Regions from separate parts of the Homo sapiens genome. Here region 1 is linked to region 2. The links are contacts of gene promoters, found by promoter capture Hi-C in blood cells and fetal thymus (Javierre and others, 2016). All regions are on one chromosome and are shown on one strand. The core of a region is centred on a gene start or on the middle of the fragment in contact, and the rest is flanking DNA. Distances in the headings are between cores, read along the strand shown.

The links. The method cuts DNA at HindIII sites, captures the fragments that hold promoters and counts their contacts. A CHiCAGO score of 5 or more calls a contact.
Region 1: a contact is called between a fragment that was not itself captured here and the fragment with the promoter of TXNRD1 in region 2, in 17 of 17 cell types (naive CD8 T cells, naive CD4 T cells, activated CD4 T cells and 14 more). The highest score is 14.9, in naive CD8 T cells.

Annotation. Positions count from the first base shown.
Region 1 is chr12:104,356,546-104,360,537 of GRCh38, reverse strand. No RefSeq gene overlaps it. Among named protein-coding and RNA genes, the nearest start is that of EID3, 55 kb to the right of the region's middle. RefSeq lists an enhancer at 2,813-3,107. The HindIII fragment of the contact is 3,521 bases long and covers 1-3,436 here.
Region 2 is chr12:104,214,395-104,218,592 of GRCh38, reverse strand. TXNRD1 (thioredoxin reductase 1) reads right to left here and starts at 2,814. Exons shown (of 17, transcript NM_001093771.3): 1 at 2,700-2,814. The coding sequence starts at 2,790. RefSeq lists enhancers at 1,806-2,421, 2,422-3,038 and a silencer at 2,862-2,951. The HindIII fragment of the contact is 5,942 bases long and covers 1-4,198 here.

The sequences.
Region 1 (3,992 bases), core at 427-2,926, 140 kb before region 2:
AGACCCAAAATTCAGTGTCTTCAAAGAGTAGTCTACGTAAGACGTTTGTTCTTTCCCACCCAGCAGATGGAGGTGGGGGTGGAGGATGCTACAGGGTGTGGGTCATCAGGGCCCTGGTTCCTTCCAACTTGTTGCTCAGCATCTGCTTGCTTCTTGACTCATCTGCTTGCTCATGGCTGGCCTCCAGCCCTCCAGTGGGTGTCAGGTCATTCACAGATGCAGGGGAAAGAGAAAGTGGAGAGCAAGTGTTTTTCTTACACGGAACATAACACTTTCACATCCATTCTATCCCAGAGCTTAACCACAGAGCAACTTAGTATCATGGAGGCTGGGAAATTCAGTACATAGCTAGGTGCCCAAGCACATTGCTAAAATCTATGTATGTGTAGAGGTTGGGGGGGGGGCGGGGGGAGGTTGTACTACCAAAAAGACAAAGGGAAGAAGGACAGAAGAACAATTAGATCTTTCCAATCATTTGGATAAACTGTCTCCCACAGTTGGATATTTCAATTATTTTTCATTTTTCACTAATATAAGCACTGTGAACACCCTTATACACCTAGCACCCCCTTTGTGCCAGCCACACTATTCTAAGCACTTCATGTGTGTGTTAACTTGATCCTCACAGCAACTCTGGGAGGTGAGCACAATTATTATCTCTATTTTATGCTAAGAAAACAGAGGTACTGGGGGCTAAGTTACCCTGCTGCAGGGGCTGGGCTTGTAACCACTGCTTGTAGGAAAGCCTGCCTGGGTCAGTGCTCTTTCTCTTCAACACCTCTTTATTTCCATTCACTTCCTATTTCCCTCTCCATAGACGGCCCCTCTCATGCGGTGCATGTGTGCTATTCTGCTCGTAAAACATGTACCATGGTTTCATGGGCATACATTTTTAGTACACAGAAGCGGTTATAGGGGGCTCGGTCTCTTTTTCTTTCCACTCGCCTCTACCCATGTCATGAGTACTCCCCAAGTACCGCTCCATCATCTTGCATCTGCCGCAGCCTACTCATCTATTCCCCAGTGAGGGTCATCAGGATGGAGTTCAATTTCCCCACACTGCACACGGTGCCATAACGGGTGTCTTCGTGCACGTTACCTTGGGGATACACAGAATTTCTCTGGGGTTGAGAGCCAAGAGCCGTATTGCTGGGTCATGGGCTACACAGTGCTTGAGGTCTAAACACTGAGCAGCAAACAGTCTCCTCTCCAACCAGCAGGGCCTGACGGTCCCCTCGCCTAGCTCATCATTTGGCATTAACCAGCTTTCTGATGTGTGCAAATCTGATGGCTGTAAAGCAATCTCTCATTATTTTAATTTGCCTTTCTTAATGACTCGCAAGTTTGTACAGCTCTCCTATCCTGGTTGACTTTTGGGTTTTATCTTTGGTGAATAAGCAGTTCAATGTCCTTTGCCCATTTTCTTTTGTGGTTCCTGTCTTCTTGTTGATTCGCCAGAGTTCCTTGAAGTCACCTGGGTCTAAATTCCTTATCAGTTTCAGACACAGAACAGTCCCTTCCCACATGGTCATCTCTCTATTAAACTTTTTCCATGATGGTCTTCGTGAATCAGAACTTCTGGGGCAACTGGCACATCAGTGCTTTGCCTTTTGGTTTGTGCTTGAGACCATGGTTTAAGAAACCCTCACCCACCTCTAGGTCACAGAGGTATTTTCCTATATGTACCATATAAATTTTACGGCTGTACCACATACATTTAGGTCTTCAATATGTTTCAAGTCTGTCTTTGTCATCCAGTGTTAGGTAGGGATCCAGTTTTATAGCTACACACATAGCAAACAAGTTTTCCCAGAATTATCTGCTAAACTGTTTGCCCATCCCCCTTGATTTGCAAGCCCTATAAAATTTTTTAGCTATGTGACCTTATTCACTCAAGCCCATAAACAAAGTGTGTTCCAGTAAAACTGAACACCAAAGTGGAAGCCTGCTGTTCACAGGGATGGACACTAGGAGGCACACCTTCTCTTTTGCTTTGGAGTCACCCCATGCCACAGAAGCCACACAGTGTGAGCCTGGGCAAGTGACTGACTCTGAACTTCCCTTTTTTCATCTAAAAAGTGGGTGTAGGGCCGGGCGCAGTGGCTCATGCCTATAATCCCAGCACTTTGGGAGGCTGAGGCGGGTGGATCACTTGAGGTCAGGAGTTCAAGACCAGCCTGACAAACATGGTGAAACTCCATCTCTACTAAAAATACAGAATTAGCCGGGCATGGTGGCACACGCCTGTGATCCCAGCTACTTGGGAGGCTGAGGCAGGAGAATTGTTTGAACCCAGGAGGCGGAGGTTGCAGTGAGCCGAGATTGTGCCATTGCTCTCCAGCCTGGGCAACAAGAGTGAAACTCCATCTCAAAAAAAAAAAAAAAAAAAAAAAAAGAAAGAAAAAAGAAAAGTGAGTGTAACACTAGTTCTAAAGTTCTTATAAGATTAGTGGAGTCACTGCGTGGAGGGCGTTTTGGATGTGCAGTTCTTTCTCTGCCTGCAGCTCTCCTCAGTATAACGCCTCTTCTCTTTTCATTTCTTCTCTGGGCCATTTTAAGGCCTTTATTCCTCTACGCACTTGTACTTCCAGAGCCCACATCATTCCAGATATAATGAAATGCATCACTTTCCCACTTTCAATGTACTTCATTTACAGACATACAGGAATCAGATCTAATTGCATTTGATTGGCATAAGGCAAGTATGTAGGCATTTAAAGATTTGTCCATTGTAATTTTCTTCTGTTGAGTTATTTTCCTTCATATTCTGGAGCATTTTCAAAATGGTTTCAAAGGCTTTTGTAAACACTGGGCCTTTTGCTCATGGCACTTAGTGGGGATGAAACAGCCTCGCCTTCTCTACCTTAGCAACACTAACAGATCTTGTGGATGTCATTCTTTTTTGTGTGTGGATATTGACTCAGAGTCCTCCACTCTCCTCCCTCCTGAGCCCCAGACCCACCTTCCTGTCTTCTCATTGGTGGACCCCACTGAGTGCCTGGCCAGGACTTCCAATTGAGAATGAGTAGTGGCCATGAGGATTAAATGTTGCTATGTGCATAGCACTTACAACATAACCCTAATATGCAGGAAGTAAGCATATGAGGAAAATGTGACTATTATTACACGATTTGGTCAGAATGGAGAGTGGAAAGGAAGGTTAAAGAGACAATTTAGGAGGCAATTGCAAATCAGAGCAAAAGATAAAGGAAGCCTTTAAAAAGGTGGTTGCCATGGAAAAGACGAGACCAAAGAGAATGAAACCTGTGGGACTTCACAGTGTTCTTTCATTCCAATGATGTACAAAGTACCAACAGTGTACTTGGAGCTGCTCTGAGAGCTGGGTTGATGGGAAAGCAAGGGAAAGTCTAGTCTTCCAAAGAAGAGTCCAAGGGGGCAAGAGGAGGTGGGAAGACAGCAGCCTCCACACAAAGCTTTGGTCTCCCCACCCCCAAGCTCGGGACAGGCAGTTCAACAACAGAAGCCTAAAAAGTGGCTTATCTGTTGGCCTGAAGCATACAATTACTGCTCCTATTTTACAGAAGAGGAAACTGAGGCCAAGTGAGGTTAAGCACAGATAACTTGGCAAAAACTGCGCTGCTGGGATTCAAACCTGTGTGGCTTGGGAATTTAATCTGCTCAGAGCCCAGCTGTTTATTGGTTCTGCAGGGCCAGGCTTAGGGTGAGGGAATAGGAAACTGAACTCTCAGTGCTGTTAAAGGACCGATCTTGCTCTGGGAGAGCGTGTGCCTCCTTGGATTTTGCGGCCGGAAGCCTCAATCTCATCCCAGCCCTGTCCCCGTGTGCCTTCTCTGCTTCCCACTGCCCCAGAACGGTGCCCAGCGTTGGCCTGCGTTTGAGCGCTTCTCTTTCTGTCTCCATGCCCCTCCAAGCCCCGAACCTGGACTACATCCATGCTTTCGCTTGCCAGGGGTCTGCCTGGAGCGTCCTTTCCTCGCCCCTGTGTTTCTAGATCTAAACCTCACCATCCC
Region 2 (4,198 bases), core at 1,565-4,064:
AAGCCGTGCTTTAATAGATTAATGCTTAAAATATGCCTAAATTTAAGTTTCAAAAAGTAAATGTAAATAGGTGAAATTCTTCTATGCTGTTAGAAATCAGAGTAGTGTTTGCCCTTGGTATGGGGGTAAGAGACATTAGAGGGGCTCCTGGGGTACTGGAAACGTTTATTTCCTCAGCTGAGTGTGGGCTGCATGCATATACTTCGTTTGTAAAAATTTAGCAAGTTGTATTATAACGAGTGAGCTTTTCTGTATTATAAAATAGTTCAGGCCGGGCGTGGTGGCTCAAGCCTGTAATCCCAGCACTTTGGGAGGCTGAGGCGGGAAGATCACGAGGTCAAGAGTTCAAGACCAGCCTGGCCAACATGGTGAAACCCCGTCACTACTAAAAATACAAAGATTAGCTGGGCATGGTGGCGGGCCTGTAATCCCAGCTATTTGGGAGACTGAGGGAGGAGAATTGCTTGAACCCAGGAGGCGGAGATTGTGGTGAGCCAAGATCATGCCACGGCACTCCAGCCTGGCGATAGAGCAAGACTCCATCTCGGGAAAAAAAAAATGTGGTGTGTGTGTGTATATATATTCCATTTTGTGTGTGTGTGTGTGTATATATGTGTGTGTGTATGTACATATACACACACACAATGGAATATTATTCAGCCTTAAAAAGTAAGGAAATCCTGTCGCATGCTACAATACAGATGAAACTCGAAGACAAGTATGCTAAGTGAAACAAGCCAGTCACAAAAAGACAGACACTGTATGATACCAACTTATATAAGCAATCTAAAGTAGCCAAATTTCACAGAAACAGAAAGTAGAATGATGGATACCAGGGGCTGGGGGAAACGGCAAATGAAAAGTTAACGAGTTGGCATGGAGTTTCAGATTTGCAAGATGAAAAAGTTCAGGGGATCTGCTTCACAACAATGTGAATATACTTAATACTGCTGAAAACTGTATACTTAAAAACGGTTAGGGTCAGCTGGGTGCAGTGGCTCATGCCTGTAATCCCAGCACTTTGGGGAGCTGAGGTGGGCAGATCACCTGAGGTCAGGAGTTCAAGACCAGCCTGACCAACATGGTGAAAACCTGTCTCTATTAAAAATACAAAATTAGCCAGGCGTGGTGGTGCATGCCTGTAATCCCAGCTACTTGGGAGGCTGAGGCAGGAGAATCGCTTCAACCTGGGAGGTGGAGGCTGAGGTGAGCCAAGATGGCGCCATTGCACCCCAGCCTGGGCAACGAGAGCGAAACTAAAAAAAAAAAAAAAACAAAATTGTTAAGATGGTAAATTTTTTTTTTTTAACCACACACAAAAAGAATGTAGCTAAAGAAAAACAGTAAATAAATGGAAGGACATAGATATCAAGAAGATCCTGAGGATGGCACATGAAACGTCAATTTGGGATGCACCTGCTCAAACTCCTTCATTGTACTAATGGCCACAAATTAGCTGCCTGACCTGGACCTTGCCTGACCTTGCTCCTACCCTGTTCCTTTATTCTTCCCTTCCCCTAATCCAAGTCCTTAACTCCAGCAGGATATACAGGCCTCCCTATCTCTAGCATGGTCTCACCGGCTGCTTCCCCTAACAAGAATGTTCTCCCTTCAGACACCTCTACCAAATCCTACCTCATCTATGGGAGCTGCCATCCCCACTTGGCTGTTTTTACCACTCCTTTTAGCCCTTCACCATATGCTGCCTTGTAACTAAACTGTAAGCCTTTGAAAGAGGCAGATCCTACAGCATTTAATAATTCTAGCCATTGGGCAAGGCACTTTTTGGAGCCTCACTTTCTCAAGCCTATAAAAAAGGTGGAGGCGGCCATATGACTATGACCAGGGCTTTTGAGTCAGATGGCCTCAACTGGTATCCCAGCTCTTCCACTTACTAGTTGTGTGCTTTGGGTAAGTTTTATAACCTCTTTGCTTCTCAGTTTCTTCATCTGTATAATGGGGTTTATGATAAATCTCTCAGTATGGCTGGAAACATGAACCAAGATTATTACCCATGTCTAGTGCTTCCAAAGGCCCCTCTCATGTCAGTGCTTAGTAACCACTAGCCATTATTGGCATTATCCGGACAATGGAGAAGAGACTGGGAGCTTTCTCTTCTGGAAGAACAAGTGAAAGGATAAAGCGGGATGATGGTGGGAGAAATGTGCCCAAAATTCAAGGGGATGGAGAAAGGGGGCCGGGAAGGCGTGTCGGACAAGATTCTCGATGGAGGAGGATGCTGGGAGTGGGCCGGGGGCTTCTGGAGAGGTGAAGGGGCACCCCCGGACTCGGCTGTCGGTTTGGTCGCTTCCCCCGTAACCTTTCATTGGAAACACGGTGCTTGTAGGAAGAGGACGCCCTAACGGGCCCTGAGCGAAATCAGGCGGGTCGCTGCCGAGATCTCGGTTCGGTTTCCGACAGGTTTCCGGGCAGGTCCTCGCGGCGGGCCCGCTCCTCCTTCCACCTCCCACCTCTCTCACAGCCAGCGGGCGGGGCAGCCCTCGGCCGGCCGCCGGCCTCCGTCTCCCGGGGTGACCTGGGGGAGCGTTTCTGGGGTCTCCAGCGTGGCGCGCGGTCAGTCACTGACTCCAGTGAGGGGCTTCAAGGCCAGGGCTCCGGGGCACTTTATCCCCAACCCCGGCCGGAAGGCCCGCTTCGGCCCGTCGACCTGGGGACCAGGCCTTCGCCCTCGGTCGTACCTGACCTACGGCGGCCATCGCCGTTCTTGCCTTTCGTCTGCAGCTCCGTTGGGGCGGCCGCCGCCACTGCCTTGCCCTCGGCGCAGCCCATGTCGCACAAGGCCCTGTGGGAACTGACGGAGCCGAAGGACGCCTGGCGGAGGCCGCGAGCCCCCTGCCGGCCGCGGGTCGGAGAACGCGGTGGGCGGGGCGCTCGGTGACAACAGCGAAGTCATAGCCCGTGTATCTTCTTCAAGGTCGTGAATTTTTTTTTTTTAACAGGAAAGAACGGTCGCTAAAGGTAAATTGGAAAATGCAGAAATGGAAAGGAGAAAAGAGCGCACCACCCAAAATCCTTATCCTTCGGCTGGGCGCGGTGGCTTACACCTGTGCACTTTGGGAGGCCGAGGTGGGAGGATTGATCGCTTGAGCCCAGGAGTTTGAGACCATCCTGGGCAATGTAGAGAAACCCTGTTTCTACAAAAAATAATTTTAAAAAATTTATCCTTCACACAAACTACTTTTGCTGTGTTTACTATTTCTTTCCAGTTTTTCCCCTCTATGCATAGTTTTGCATCCAGCATTTCACTTAATACTAGTATTTTCCATACTATCACATAGTCTTGTAAGCCTCCCAGATAACCACCTGGCTTCCACTGTCACTTCAGTCTTTGCCTCTTTGACCGTAGATGAAGCATACACTGAACATCGTAGTTTCTTTTTAATACACTTTATTTTTTAGAGCAGTCTTTTTTTTTTTTTTTTTTTGAGACGGAGTCTCACTCTGTCACCCAGGCTGGAGTGCAGTGGCGCGATCTCAGCCCACTGCAACCTCTGCCTCCCAAGTTCAAGCGATTCTCCTGCCTCAGCCTCCCGAGTAGCTGGGACTACAGGCGTGTGCCACCATGCCCAGCTAATTTTTTGTATTTTTAGTAGAGACGGGGTTTCACCGTGTTAGGCAGGATGGTCTCGATCTCCTGACCTTGTGATCCGCCCGCCTCGGCCTCCCAAAGTGCTGGGATTACAGGCGTCAGCCACTGCGCCTGGCCTTAGAGCAGTCTTAAGTTCACAGCAAAAAGACCATCCTATTTGAACAGAAATCTGATCACGCCCCCCTCAACTCTACCCCCACCCTTTACTTTACTCTATTTTATTTTTACCAGCACTGAGAGCCTTCTAACTTACCCTATATTCTCTGTCACCTGCTCCCACTCCCTCCGCCAGCCTCCCCACGACACCCTGCCCATGTAAACGCTGCCAAAATAGAACCTTTGCATTTTTTTCTTGTATCTTGGCCTTCAGCTTGGGCCAGGTGGCCTCCCCCACCTCTTGAAGGAAAGCAGGGAAGAAGCGGGAAAATATTAATTTGAATAATTATAATAATGTAATAGTCCATCCACTAGAGCTACTGGACGATTACATAGCCTATTATTAGATGTTTAGTTTGTTTTTTATTTTTAAAAATTATGAATAAGGCTGCAGGGAACATCTTTGTGTTTATAGTTTTAAGGCTGTCATTA